2 separate regions of the Homo sapiens genome follow, and region 2 is linked to region 1. The links are contacts of gene promoters, found by promoter capture Hi-C in blood cells and fetal thymus (Javierre and others, 2016). All regions are on one chromosome and are shown on one strand. The core of a region is centred on a gene start or on the middle of the fragment in contact, and the rest is flanking DNA. Distances in the headings are between cores, read along the strand shown.

What was found. Contacts are between HindIII fragments. The CHiCAGO score rates a contact against its expected background, and 5 or more counts as called.
Region 2: a contact is called between a fragment that was not itself captured here and the fragment with the promoter of PGCKA1 in region 1, in 1 of 17 cell types (naive CD4 T cells). The highest score is 5.6, in naive CD4 T cells.

Annotation. Positions count from the first base shown.
Region 1 is chr4:37,449,534-37,457,110 of GRCh38, forward strand. It overlaps PGCKA1 (PDCD10 and GCKIII kinases associated 1), which reads left to right and starts at 4,392. Exons shown (of 4, transcript NM_001104629.2): 1 at 4,392-4,507. It overlaps LOC124900691 (a long non-coding RNA gene), which reads right to left. Exons shown (of 3, transcript XR_007058098.1): 1 at 7,103-7,577; 2 at 5,947-6,057; 3 at 4,784-5,561. The HindIII fragment of the contact is 3,173 bases long and covers 1,618-4,790 here.
Region 2 is chr4:37,973,931-37,981,507 of GRCh38, forward strand. The region is part of intron 2 of TBC1D1 (TBC1 domain family member 1); the gene reads left to right. Among named protein-coding and RNA genes, the nearest start is that of PTTG2, 17 kb to the left of the region's middle. RefSeq lists silencers at 3,259-3,328, 3,399-3,518, 3,639-3,688, 3,709-4,008. The HindIII fragment of the contact is 3,989 bases long and covers 2,473-6,461 here.

The DNA.
Region 1 (7,577 bases), core at 3,142-5,641:
GTTCATGCTTACTGCTTATGTTGCACCAGGCACTGTACTTGGAGCTTTGCATGTACTAAGCCATTTAAACTTCACAACAGCCCTGTGAAGTAGGTACTGTTAGCATTCCAAATGTATAGGTAAAGAAACCTAGAAACGGGTCCAGGGAGAATAGCTGAACAAGATTTCAGTGCACTCTCAGTGTCTTTTTCCTTAACTTTCTCAAAGTACATCAAAACAGAGCATTTAGTATCTAGTAGGCACTTAGAGATCAATAATGACCTGCAAGGTGTTTTCTAACTTGCAGGTGGGAGACTGGGCTAGCTCTGAAGATCACTGAAATTTGCTGCAAACTCTCACGTTTTTCAGGTATACAGAAATAGTTGATGAATTCATTAATAGAAGGATGGGGAGGAAGGAGAAGAAGGGTGATGACTGAGGAGTTGTCTCTCTCATAAATTCCCTTTGCGCGAACGAGCAGGACCAAGGGGAGCCTTCCCACATGCCCTTTCTTCCATCTCTTGCCTCTTGGATCTGAGAATCCACACACGCACCAAAAAATATTTTTAAAAAACAGAAACAGAGGAGTATTGGTGAGCTTAAGTGATGATACATAGGAAATAATCTGAAAGCTAGTATCTAGTTGTCATGAAATAATTGTTCTCAGAGAAACTTTAATGTGTTACGAAAATAAATTATTCTGGTTTATTGCCTGCATCACATGGCTGAGACTAACGTGTTCAAAATTTACCACCACTGAAAACAATTCCATTACTTACAAAGGGTAATATCTTTAGGTTGAAAAGGCTAAACCCCTCTCCTTTTAGTTCTCAAAGAAAATGTAGAGAAGTTAATAAATATTTGCAAAAAAGCATTTCAAATAAATAGAGTTTGTTTAAATATCTTCTTTCCTAGAGCCAAGAACACAACAGTCAACACTGTATGCTTGCTATGCCCAAGGCATTATGCTAGATCCTGGAATGATTTGAAAAGTCACGCATGACTCCTGCCATCCAGAACCCTACAGTCTAGAAGAGACACAGCTAAACCAGATGAGACTGATTTCAAAGTTAGTAAGAGTGAGAGCCAGGTGCTGAGGATACACTACAGAGGAGCAATTAACACTACCTGAATATCGAAAAGGTTGACCCAGAGGAGATAGAGCTGAGGCTAGAAGAATAATTAGGACTTAGCTGTCAATGTCAGAGAGACATTTCAGGTAAAGGAAGCTGCATGAGCAAAAATGGGCATTGAAGCATATTTCAGGCGACTTCAAATGCTGTTGGGATTTTAGACTTTATTCAGTAGTCAATAGTGTCACTGAAAGCCAGGGGCCCAGCCTAGGTCCTGTTGCTCACTACACAGAAAGCCAATCACTAAGGCAATGAGTATTGTCAGGGAAGAAGGCTTTATTATGGGTGATATCAGCCAGAGACAGGAGACAAGACTCAAATCTGAATCTCCCCTGGCTAAAGTTGGGGTTTATATGGGGGGAGAAAACAGGCAGGGCAAGGAAGAGGAGTTGCTCAATAGGCAGCAGGTGTCTAGCATCTCACTGTAACCTCCTATAGGAAAACAGGAATTAGGGAGGGTTAAGGAAGAGGAATTGGTCAACAGGCAGCAGGTGTAAGTTTCTCAAGCTTCAGTGCTATGGGCATTTGGCTTGTTGGAAAATTGCGCTGGTTTCAACAGGGAGCTGGGAAAAAAAGTTTTGGGGAAGGGCAGTTACTTTGTCAGATGGCTTTCAGATGGAAAAGATCAGAAGCTGGGAGACCAGTAAAGACCATGGCCATGATCTCAGTTAGAAAGTGTTAGAACCTGATCTTAGAACCTGCTTAGAGTAGGGGCAATTCAAGATTTATTTCAGGGCTTAATGGATAGAGGTGTTTGATGAAGGGGAGGGAAAACTCAAATAATTCCAGTTCCAATTGGAATTGAGTAGATAGAATTACAAATGTAAAGTGAACAGGGGATGAAAGTGGGGGAAAATCACAAAACAAACTTGGACCTAGAGAGTTTAAAAGTAAGACATCCATCTAGCCCATTAGAAATAGTCTATCTATCCCATGGAGAAAACTCAAATAAAAACCCACTCAGTTCTTTCTTTCTCAGTAAGGAGATTGCAATGGATTGCAAGGAGCCCTTACTGCAATGCCTAATATGGTGTGGGGAGTTTTTTGGGCTATAACATAAACGGATACCATAATGTTTTTAATGTTGTTTGTTTTTTAGAACTCTTTCACAAATTTGGAACCATGTTGATAAATCCACTCAAAAAAATTAGCTTTCCTATCTTTCATGACTCATTGGCTGGGAACAATTTACATGTCAGTGAAAACATGGGCACACCTAAAAAATGAAGTGAATCATGGTGTTTTCACCCTGGTGTGCATCAAGAAACCATAGGTTTTTCTTCCATATGTTTTACAAGGGCCCCTCAGATCTCAATTTGGCATTCCAAGAGATCTGCAAGAAGTACAGATTACACGTTGTATGGACACATGGAGGGTTCAGTTTCAGTGTATCAACATGACAGATTACATAAAACTGGTAATCTAGGGATACAAATAAAAGCAGCACCTCTAGCTTTATAGAATGCCAGCCCTTACTATTTAATAGATGAGGGGAACTTCGCCAGCTACCTGTGCATATTCAGAGCAACGGTTCGCAAACTGGAGTAGGTACCACTTGCTAAAACACAGATTTCTTCACCCTCCCTCCCCAACTATTTCTGAATCAATACGTCTGGGGTGGGTCCCAAGAATTTGCATTTTTACTACATTCTCTCAGATTATGCCGATGCTATTAGTCTAGGAACTGCACTTTAAAATCTAAGGCAGGCTGGGGCGCGCGGTGGCTCAGCTTGCAATCCCAGCACTTTGGGAGGCCGAGGCGAGCGGATTGCTTAACCTCAGGAGTTCAAGACCAGCCTGGGCAAGTTTAGGAGAGCCCACCCCCACCCTAGTCTCCACAAAAATAATAATAATAATAGTAATAATAATAATAATAATACAAAAATTAGCCGAGCATGGTAGCATGAGCCTGTAGCCCCAGGCACTCCAGAGGCTGAGGTGGGAGGATCCCTTGATCCCCAGAGGAGGAGGTTGCAGTAAGCTGAGATCGCATCACACTCCAGCCTGTGTGCAACAGCCAGACCCTGTCTCAAATAATAATAAATAAATAAATAAAATGAAACCCAATACAAATACCAACCCCTTTTTCGACAGATAACCTACTTGATAAATGTATCAATATCCTGTAGACAATTAAGTGTCGACTATAAGTTGGACATGAGTGCCGTTCATTGTGACAAAGGATGTAAAACCACATATAACTTCCTGCAAAAATCTAACACTTTACAGCGTGCAATCCCAGCACTGCAAAATTAGAAGGATTCAAAAAATGGAGTGTTCAAATTCTCAAAAGCCTGGCAAATATCATGTGAATGGGGCTGGCATCATTAAAGTAGATACATTGAAAACCCAAGGACACTATGTCCATCCTTAGATAATACTCTGTCCAGATGCCTCTCCAATATCCTATTTTATTCTCTTGCTGGATGAGTTGAAAAGAAGAGAGAAGAGGGTAAGCTAGGTGGCGCAGTTGCTTAACACTTTTTTTGGCAAGCTCAGCATTTGCTTTGGAGCACAGGTGAAAAGAATGTCCAGTCCTTAAGCAGAGTCAGTTCTCCACCCGCCTTAGGTATATGGATTGTAACAGCTACGAATGTGGAACTCAGTAGATTGGATGCAGTCTTGTGGCCAATGCCCTAAGACCTCAGGAAAAGAAAGGGATGGAGGGGGAGTGGGTGAGGAGGGGACGGGGAACCAGGAGTTCATTGAACTCCCCCTGGGGCCTTTAGGGTGCAGGCGAGTGTGTGCAACTTCCCTGGTTTTTATCGTGGTGGTGGCGCCCCCGCTGTTTCTAGGTCCATGTAGCTCATACAGGGCTGGCCATGGAACTCACAGCAGGTCTAGGCGGCGAATGCCAGAAATAAGGAGGAAACTGAAAAATGCCAAGTTCTCGGGGTTTGGGAGTACACAACTATTTGCCAGCGGGTGCATTTGTTTTGTGTATCCCCGTACTCCAGTCCCTTGATCATAGGAAGCTCCCTTCTCTCCAGCGCAACATTGGAGTAAGCACCCCGGAGTTTCCCGTGATGGCAGGCGGTTGGCGCGGTCGTTTGTGCTCAGAGGCCAACAAGCGCGTGGATTTTCTGCTTCAGTGCGCCCGGGACTGCCACCCCGGCCCCGGGGATGTCGGACATCGTACTCCAGGGTTTCGAGCCCTAGCCCCGCCGCATCCTCGGGGCGTGCAGGTAAAGGGTTACGCGTGTCGGGAAGGCTCACCCGCAGCCCGGGCCACGTGACGCGCGGGCCCAATGACAGCGCTGGGGCGGCCGCTGCGAGCTCGGCGGGCTCAGGGCAGCGCGGAGCCGCTAGCGTCTCCCGGCGCGGCTGCCCGAGGCCGGCGAAGCCATGGGCGCCGGGACCCCGCCGCCGCCGCCGCCGCCGCCGTCTGGCCCCAGGTAGGGACAATCCCCCGCCCCGCGCGCGCAAAGAGGGCTTTAGTCCTGCGGAACTTGGCTTTGGGGCGAGCTTTCCCCCACTTCTCTCCGAGTCGCCTACTTTTAAGTTTAATTTCTTGATTTGCTTTTGCCCTGAAAAAAAAAATTAGAGACGCAATTCAAAGTTTGATGACTTCGGGAAAAGTCACGTAATTCAACAAAGGGGCTCTAAAAGGGGCAAAACTCGGGTGGGGGGAGGCGGACTTTTACAGATTCCCAAAACCAAAGACCAAGGCGTTTGTAAAGCTTGGCGTTTAATTGGTTGTGTGAAACATTTTTGCTTTTAAATCCCTAACTAATGAACTTTCAACGGTGCATGCGAACTTGAAAAAACTGCAAGAGATTTTACCTTAGATCTGTGCCCTCCTCCCCCATTTTAAGTATGTTTTTTAATAAAAAGGAAATGGAATGTGACCTCTGCTGTTTCTTTGAAATGCCCTTGGGTCCCGGTATTTGCCCCCCAGGGGTGCTGGCGGCCTGGGCAGTGGGTAGGGGTGGGGGAAGAGGTCAGGGTGCCAGGAGGCCTCACGTAGTGAAAAGAGGGTGCCAGGTGCAAACAGTTAAATAGTCACAAACTGTTTGCTAAATATTTAATAATTAGGCAAGCATCTCCCAGCTTGGTTACTTAGGTTGCATTGACCTTGGCAGCCCTGATGAGGCGAGATTTTCACAAAGTACTGGTGAAGAATTTTTCCGGTGATAAAAGGCAAGGATCAATGCTTTTTACCCCAGCATGGCAATTGACCTTAAAAACAAAATTAAAACTCCCTGTGATGACTTAGTACATTTTATGTTACTTTCCATGGCAGCATAGATACCTGCCCCATGATGGATATTTGCCCTGTGAATTTAGAGAAAGTTTGTGCTCCAGAGGTGGTTCAAATCATTGAAGAATAGGGCGTTTATTTTCTTCCTGTCACTATTTATGGGAAAGAATTACGGATGGTCCTTCTTGCCCTGGTTTGTGGATGTCCTTGGTGGTTGCAATCAAGCAAGCTCTTATGAGGAATAATATCTGGAGAAAAGAAGAGAAGCATTTGAGAGTTGAATGAGAAAGAAATGGAAAGCGGTTACTGCTTTTAAACATAATAGAGTCTATATTTGTTGCCTACCCCTCCCCCTTCCCCATTTAATCCTTCAGTTGATACTATTTTAGGAAGGATAAGACAGATGTTAAAGATCATAGACCACCTTACTGGTCCCAGCTGTGAAACACTGTCAGGAGGCAGATAATTGAAACAAGGTACATAATTGAAACAATTTGAAGCTCAAAGGTAAAGTTAAGTTCTGGAGTTATTTGTATTTCCCTAAAGTGTGAAGAGTCAGCTAACAGCAAGCTGCCTGGGTCACTGAGCAGAAATGGAACAGATGCTGAGACAGGAAGGGAAGGTGTGGCTTACTTCTCTTCTTGGCCCATTCTGTGTCTATCCTCTGATCCTGCTCCGTGCATTTATTCAGCAAGTATGATCTTGGTCCTCAATGGCTCCGGAGATTTAGATAAATAATGATACCTAAAGAGAAATAGGGCCAATCTTTCCTGTGTTTCAAAGAGCTTTTTGGATATCTGGGATTGAAGACAAAACCTTGCATACCAACTCAACACGTTCCATTATCCTAAACATGGAATGATTCCCTTGACGTCCCACCCAGACCCTCTCTGAGCCGGAAATACAACCTGGCTAAGCTCCGGCCAGAATCCATTTGCAGCCCAAGGGCAGAGCACAGGTAGGGCCGGCCCCTTTCCTCCTAGAACAGCCCGCTCTTGGTGCCCGGAAGCCCATTCACGGTGCTTCTTGGAATAGACGCCAGTTTCCAAATAATTGAATACCAGCCTTCCAGTAGCTAGGTTTCCTCTCCCTAGACTGTGTTTCACATTCCCCTAGTTACACAATTTTTCTGGTAACCCTGAATCTTGGGATCTTTTACAGTCTTGGTTAAATAGTAACTAGTACCTATGTCCTGCTTTTCTTTCTTGGTCATTAGGCAGATTTTCTTTTTGGTCATTCTTTTTGGTCATTAGATTACATGCTTACAGAGAGACTTTGTAGGTGTGTAGAAAAGAGTTGAGTTAAAGGGGTCATCCTAGGGGAAGCCGACTTGGAGTCTTCACCTATGTGCAGGTCAGATGTAGTCTTTCTCGAGTGCCTGCTCTTAACCATTGAGCCATCCTGTGTCTCCAGTTGTAGCCTTTCTTACTCTGACTGCTATTTAAGAGAATAAACTGAAAATGAAATCGCTCATCTACTTGTACCCTTTTCACCCGAGAATATCATAGTCCCACAGAGGTTAGTTAAAATCTTCAGGACTGTAGATTATCAAATAATCCTTTCCTAAAACATACGTAAAACACCAAGCCAATGAATACGTGTCCTGAAACAGAAAATTAAAACTCTGACTCAGTGTTGTCAGGCATTGTAGAAAAGATGTTCCAGAGCTGCAATGAATATTAACAAATGACAAAAGGAATATTGTATCTCACTCAAACTTTATCAGAAGTGCTGAACTCTGTTCTGTTCAGTGTACAAGTGGTTCTACAAAATTTAATAAAACCCTGACCTGGCCTTGGAGACATCATGTGCGTAGACCCAGAGACACCAGAGAGTCGATGAGTTTCTGGGGACACAGTCCTTGTCTTCAGAGATCCCAATATCTTGGGAGAAACCATTGAAGGATCTTAAGCACAGCAGATCTCTATTTTAGAGAGTTCATGCAGGCTGCAATGAGAATGAAACAGGAAAGATACAACCAAGACCAAAGGCAGCTGCGGCAAAAATTTAAATTAGAGGAGAGAGAGAAGTGAACTGATTCGAAAGATAGTTAAAGAAGCACTGGTATTTAAGATTTTAACTGTAAGAACCCATTAATTGACTTGAATCTCTGACGTCAATTTACATGTCATTTCAAAATACATTTTCTCTAGGTAGATAAATGTAAGCCACATTTCATTGCAATGTTCATGTGGATTCTAGTTCCTCTAGAGCTCCTCATGGTTTTTAATCACAGAAAAAGGTTTCTGATAAATAGCCAATTA
Region 2 (7,577 bases), core at 3,217-5,716, 520 kb after region 1:
AGATTCTGCATTTCTAACCAACAGCCAGTTGCTGCTGAGGCTGCTGGTCTGTGGACCACACCTTGAATAGTAAGGTTGTAGAGTCTACAAGCATTCTCGCTCTAATGGAACTGTCAGCCTCCATCTCTTCTAAGTGTTTGGGAAAGTGATGTGGTAACAGGGAAAGATTTGGCTAAATGGCTGCAAATGCACTCCCTTTTCCACCTTCATTAAGCAGGGAATATCACTGCTTAAAAGTGAGAGAATAGTACTTCCCTAGGATGCGTCTAAGGCCCTTTTCAAGGGTGGCCTCTGTTGGAATGATGTCACTTTTTTTTTGAGACAGGGTCTTGTGCTGTCACCCAGGCTGGAGTGCAGTGGCTGAATCTCAACTCACTGCAGTTTCGACATCTAGGGCTCAAATGATCTTCCCACCTCAGCCTCCTGAGTAGCTAAGACTACAGGTGTGTGCCACTATGTCCAGCTAATTTATTTTTATTTTTCCTTTATGTAGACATGGGGTCTCACCGTGTTGCCCAGGCTGGTCTCGAACTCCTGAGCTCAAGTGATCCTCCCATCTTGGCATCCCAAAGTGCTGGGATTACAGGCATGAGCCACCATGCATGGCCTGATATTACTCTTGACTTTCTCCATGCTGTTTTTTTTGAGACAGAGTCTCACTCTGTCCCCCAGGCTGGAGTGCAGTGGCATGATCTCAGCTCACTGCAACGTAGGCCTCCCGGGTTCCAGTGATTCTCCTGTCTCAGCCTCCTGAGTAGCTGGGATTACAGGCGCATGCCATCACGCCTGGCTAATTTTTTGTATTTTTAGTAGAGACGAGGTTTCGCCATGGTGGCCAGGGTGGTCTTGAACTCCTGACCCCAGGTGATCTACCTGCCTTGGCCTCCCAAAGTGCTGGGATTACAGGCATGAGCCACCACGCCCAGCCTCTCTATGCCTTTACGGTTTTATCTATTCCTATGCACCAGATAAAACCACAAGGGTGGAAAAAAGATGAAACCCTATCATCCCCTGTAGGGTCTAGCCCCACAGGGTTGGTGGGTTTTTTCCCCGTGTGCAGAGACGAGAGAGTGTAGAAATAAAGACATAAGACAAAAAGATAAAAGAAAAGACAGCTGGGCCCGTGGTACCACTACCACCAAGATGTGGAGACCGGTAGTGGTCCCGAATGCCAGGCTGTGCTGATATTTATTGGATATAAGACAAAGGGGCAGGGTAAGGAGTGTGAGCCATCTCCAATGATAGGTAAGGTCACATGGGTCACGTGTCCACTGGACAGGGGGCCCTTCCCTGCCTGGCAGCCGAGGCAGAGAGAGAGAGAAGAGAAAGAGAGAGACAGCTTACAACATTATTTCTGCTATCAGAGACTTTTAGTACTTTCACTAATTTGCTACTACTATCTAAAAGGCAGAACCAGGTGTACAGGATGGAACGTGAAGGCAGACTAAGAGCGTGACCACTGAAGCACAGCATCACAGGGAGATGGTTAGGCCTCTGGATAACTGCGGGCAGGCCTGACATCAGTCAGGCCGTCCACAAGAGGTGGAGTAGTAGAGTCTTCTCTAAACTCCCCCGGGGAAAGGGAGACTCCCATTCCCGGTCTGCTAAGTAGCGGGTGTTTTTTGTTGACACTAACACTACCGCTAGACCACAGTCCACTTGGCAACAGGCGTCTTCCCAGATGCTGGTGTTACCGCTAGACCAAGGAGCCCTCCTGGTGGCCCTGTCCGGGCATAACAGAAGGCTCGCACTCTTGTCTTCTGGTCACTTCTCACTATGTCCCCTCAGCTCCTATCTCTGTATGGCCTGGTTTTTCCTAGGTTATGATTGTAGAGCGAGGATTATTATAATATTGGAATAAAGAATAATTGCTACAAACTAATGATTAATGATATTCATATATAATCATATCTAAGATCTATATCTAGTATAACTATTCTTATTTTATATATTTTATTATACTGGAACAGCTCGTGCCCTGGGTCTCTTGCCTTGGCAGCTGGGTGGCTTGCCGCCCACAATCCCCCATGATCCTCTCCTTTTGATATTCATGTCCTTATATTATCTCCTCCCCTTAAGTGTGGACTAGACTTATGTCTTTGGTTTTTCACAAACAGTAATAGAGCAAAAGTGTTGGGATGTCACATCTTAATTCATAAAACACTGTTTTTGGATTTGTGCATTCTCTTGGATCACTTGTGCTGGGGGATACAAACTGCCATTTTCTGATCAGTGCTATGGAAAGAAACAGCAAGAAACAGAGGCCCTGAGTCCAGCAGCTTGCGAGGAACTAAATACGGGCAACACCTATGTGAATGAGCATGGAAGTGGATCCTTCAGTCCCAGGCCAGTCTTGAGATGACTCCAGCCTCAGTTAACAGCTTGGCTGAAATTTTAGGGCGACTTTCAGCCAGAGCCATCCAGCTAAGATGCTCCTGGATTTCTGACCCACAGAAGTTGTTTGTGGTTTTAAGCTTCTCAGTTTTGGGGTAACTTTTTATACAGCAATAGGTAGCTAATACCCTCACTAAACTCAGATGCCAGATATTTAGGGAACAACATTAAAATGTCCCAATGGTCCTTCAAGAAGATAATGCACAATTAGTAGAAGGAAAAGAGAAGCAGAATTCTTGGGCTGGGTTGGCCATTTGGCCTGAGGAACTCAGTGAGTGGTTCCACCTGACACATGCATAACACATCAGCGATTAAACCTTTGGACTTTTTTTTTTTTCAACGTGGAACTCAGGAGTGGCTGGGATTGAAACTCAGCTTTACCTTTGTAGCCATAAACTGACCACCTTGTCTCATCATCTTGCCTTGGGAGAGAAGAAAACTATGGTGAAATCAACATTTCTCAAGTTGCTAAAGCCTCCTGGCAGGCAGGAGCTAAATGGTTCTTTTTCCTCTGCCCCACTTTTGGTCTCAATGGCCGAGTTTCCTGACTCCAAGAAAACCACCTTTGATTATATAAAGGTATTAGGGGCTGGGGAACACTGGTCTTTTGTTACTAGCAATCTAAAGCGCTTAGGAAGAAAAGCCCTGGGGGTGGGGGTCACCCCTGGAAAGTTGGGCGGGCTTTGTGTTAGCTCCAACTCTGGGGCTTTTGTGGAACCTCGGAGAGGGAGGAATTCTTAGATTTCTGAAAGTTGTGCGAAACGGACCCCAGAGGCCTGGAAAGGCGCGTCCCCAGCCTCCAGGGTTTCCTGCGCAGCCCTGGGCATCTCGGAAGGGGGCGACCCCAGCATGTCCCAACTTCCCGCCAGCAGCGGAGCGCGGGGGTGGGCGGGGTCGGCTGCGCGCCCTCCCCTCCTCTCCCCTCCTCCCCCCGCCCACCCCCTCCCCGCGCTCTCCCCTCCCACTTCCCTTTCTCTGCCTGGCCGCCCCGCGGGCGCGACCTCTCGGGGCAGTGACGAACTGGGTGGAGCCCGCCGCCGCCGCCGCCGCCGCCGGGGAGAGCGATGCCCCGGCCCCGCCGCTCCCCAAGCCCGCCCCCGGCCGCCCGCGGGCCCACGGGCCGGCGGCGGGAGTGAGCGGGAGCCGGCGGGCGAAGAGCCGCCGCCCGGCCCGCGATGTCACCATTGTTCAGCTGGGTGGCCAAGGTAGGCGGCGTCGGGCGGGCGCCCGTTACCGGAGCGGAGCGGCAGGCGCGGGGCTGGAACATTTGTAACCTTCGGGCCGGGGCTGGGCCGGGCCGCTGGAGGCCAGGCGCGGCGGGGGGCGAGCGGCGGGCGCGACCAGGTCGTTAGCCGCGCGTTTCTCATTCATTAGTCTCCCAGATCCCTGTGGGGAGGACGGGCGAGGTAGCGGCGCCCATTTCACAGTTGGGGAGACTGAGGCTGTACTCGGGGACCCCTGCGGGAGCCCGAACCCAGCAGGCGGCTCCTCCGGCCCCTGTCGCTCCCCGCGCCGCGGAGCTGCCGCTCGGTGCCTCCCCGGCGCGGGACCTCGCGGAAGTCGACCCCGCGTGTCTCCCTCGCGGGTGTCGCCCTCGTGTGTCTCCCTCGCAGAAGTCGGCTTGCGCTGGGCCGCCTGGACAGGGCGCCGAGGATGCCCAGAGGCTGGTGCCCACAAGGGGCGTCTGTCTTTCGTTTTTAACCCTCTGGTTTCAAAGGGCATGTTCTGAGGTCTGAGTTTTAAATAGAAGTTTTTAACTTTCCATTCCCACAAAGTTTTATTTTCAGAACATCAGCGCCTTCGAGATAACTGGGTGGTGCAAATCCAGGCCAGTTGCACTGTTGCTAACAGGAAGGCATAAGTGTAGATTTCCCGAGTTCCCACCAGTTCGAGAACACAGTAATAGCATCAATAGCATTCTTTTTATCCACTCCTGCAGTGCCAGGTGTCTGAATGTGTTTTAAAGGATGCGACCCTCGCCACCTTGAAAGGCTCGCTGGTCGTTAGGGCATCTTGCTGTCACCCCATGCACTCAGTCCCTTGGCCGGCGCCTTCCCAGGGCTTGTTTCCTGTGTATGGCTGGTTGAGTAATAAGCTCACAACTCGTTAGCCATACTGTGAGGCTTTACCAATTAATAATTTAATTAGGTGGTGGTTATGTCTTGAGTTATCATGCAATGCTTTTATAGTCTTATTTAATTACATTTTTATGAATACCTGTTTGTGAGCAGGTATGGCTTTGCCTGTGATTTAAGTGATACAAAATTGGAGACACAGAAACTAGATAACACTAGTTTTTAGATGGGCAAAAGTTTTTAGGTAGATTTTCTTACTAGGTAAATAACATTCCATTAGAATCACTTCCTGAAACATAGCTGGTGGTAAAATGAGATGACTTTCAAAAACGTTTTGAGTCATTAAAAAGTCATTTCAAAAACCATCACAGACTTTTAGGACGATTGTTAGCCTTCTCCGAGTGTCAGTACGTTGGAAAAGTTTATATAGAGGAAATGTAGGCTGGTAGCTTAATTTGGATTCTGAATCTTGTTATTTCAAAATTATTATTTTTGAGACAGAGTCTTACTCTTGTCACCTAGGCTGGAGTGCAGTGGTGCGATCTCAGTTCACTGCAACCCCCACCTACCAGGTTCAAGCGATTCTTGTGTCTCAGCCTCCCCAGTAGCTGGGATTACAGCTGTGCGCCACCACTCCCAGCTAATTTTTGTATTTTCAGTAGAGATGGGGTTTTGTCATATTGGCCCGGCAGGTCTCGAACTCCTGGGCTGAAGTAATGCCCCCACCTTGGCCTCCCAAAGTGCTGGGGTTACAGATGTGAGCCACCACACCCGCCCTCAAAATTATTATTTCGATTACAGGACAACAGCGGAAAAACTATTAAATGTTTTTGGAGCAAATTCATGTATACCTCTTAGCATACATTTTTAAAATGTGGTTATTTTATATTTCATTTCCTGTAGGTGGTGCATGCATTACAAATTATATCCCGAAATTGAATGATTTTTATAGATAACGTGTTATCCTGTGAAAGATTTTAGAATACGAAATTAGTCTTTGGAAGTTTATTTCTTGGAGTTATAGATTGTAAGAATGATGTTCTATGGAACTGATGTGGTTTACGGTGAAGAGGCAAGTCATTAACACACTTTACATTACAAACTAGGTAATATCCTAAAGACAAAGACAAAAGGCATAGATAATGTACACAATGTGAATAATCTTGAAGTTGTTATATTTGACTTCAGAATGCCCCTTCAGAAACACACAGCTGCACATGAGCACAGGCCTCACACAAACACCTGCACATCCAGTTACGCAGCTGACTTTCCTTTTCCTTTTTCATTTTGACCTTTGCAACTGCAGCTGAACACCTGGTGGGGAAGGAGAAGGGGTGGGTGTCGGTTGATTCACATGGATACCTGAGCACGAATGTGTTTTTCTTTTTTTTTGTTTTGAGACAGAGCTTCGCTCTTGTTGTCCAGGCTGGAGTGCAATGGCACAATCTTGGCTCACTGCAACCTCTGGCTCCTGGGTTCAAGTGATTCTCCTGCCTCAGCCTCCCGAGTAGCTGGGATTACAGGCTTGCGCCACCACCCCCGCTAATTTTGTATTTTTAAATAGAGACAGGGTTTCTCCATGTTGGTCAGGCTGGTCTTGAAGTCCCGACCTCAGGTGATCCACCTGCCTCGGCCTCCCAAAGTGCTGGGATTACAGGTGTGAGCCACCGCCCCCGGCCAAGCATGAATGTGTTTTTCTTGCACGATGCATTAGTATTGTGTGAATATTGAATGTGTAGAGTGGGCAATTTCATGATGTAGGAATAAAGCCAAAACGGGAGAGTTTTGTTTTAAAGAGATTATCTGTTTAAAGAAGAAAGAAAAACATAAGATGTACTTTTAAAAAAAATTGGACATGATCTGGAACATTAGGGCAGGTGTACATTGCATCAAGAATGTGGCTGGGCTTTATAGCAGTGTGATTTCTTGATTAGTCTTTCAGTGGGGACACTTGACTTTTTACGCAGTTTATAAATAAAACTGAACTTCTCAAGCTTTGTGATTTTCATAGTAAACTCACAGATGTCCCCAACAACCTGTCAGTTTTGAGTATATCTACTGTTTCTATGCCTCCATGTATCTGTTAGTCAAAACTGACTGCAGCAGAACTGCCAAGTAACTTCCAGAATTTATTTGGATTTGCACCTGCTTATAAAGTTTGTAGCTAAGATTATTGCTGGTATCTCAAGTTGGTAGATTTTAAATATACATATGTCAGTTTATGAGAAAAAATGGAAAATGAGAACTAAATATAGCCAAGTTTGCTGTGTTTCAAATCCAAGTATAGTTTCATATAGTTTATGGTGTGTATTAAGTATTTACCTTATGAATAAAGTACTTAACTGTGTATTTAATGTATTAATTAAGGCATTTAACTGTGTATTTTCCAGTGCTCATTCAACAAGTGTTTTATTAGGTACTTTTTGTATATAAGCAGTGTTTATGTCCTGGAGGAGTTAATTCACTCTGCACAATAGATTATCCTTTAAAAAGTGTGCACCCTGGAGATTTGTAAATTAAATATTTAAAGATGCATTAAAAAAGGAATCTTTTTTTTTTTTGACCCTGAGTCTCACTCTGTCGCCCAGGCTGGTGTGCAGTGGCACGATCTCGGCTCACTGCAACCTCTGCCTCCTGGGTTCAAGTGCTCCTCCCACCTCAGCCTCCCTAGTAGCTGGGACTACAGGCATACACCACCATGCCCAGCTAATTTTTGTATTTTTAGTAGAGACAGGGTTTCACCAGGTTGGCCAGGCCGGTCTTGAACTCCTGACCTCAAGTGATCTGCCCACCTCCGCCTCCCAAAGTGTTGGGATTACAGGTGTGAGCCATTGCATCCAGCCCACAGAATCCTTTTGTAAAGCAAGTAACTGATTGCTAATTAATATTTTATGTAAAACCAGGTTTTCCGTATTTGGGCATTACTTTTAAAACATTGGTTTATCTAGCCACCATTCATTCAACAGGTCATTTAACAAATGTGTTCAGTGCAGATATTTATGGATAACCTACCTATAATAGGTACTATTTGAGGAGCTGGGGATTTAGCAACCGACAAGCAGACCCCTGTTTTCATGGAATTCTAGATGGGAGAGATAGCAAAGCAGC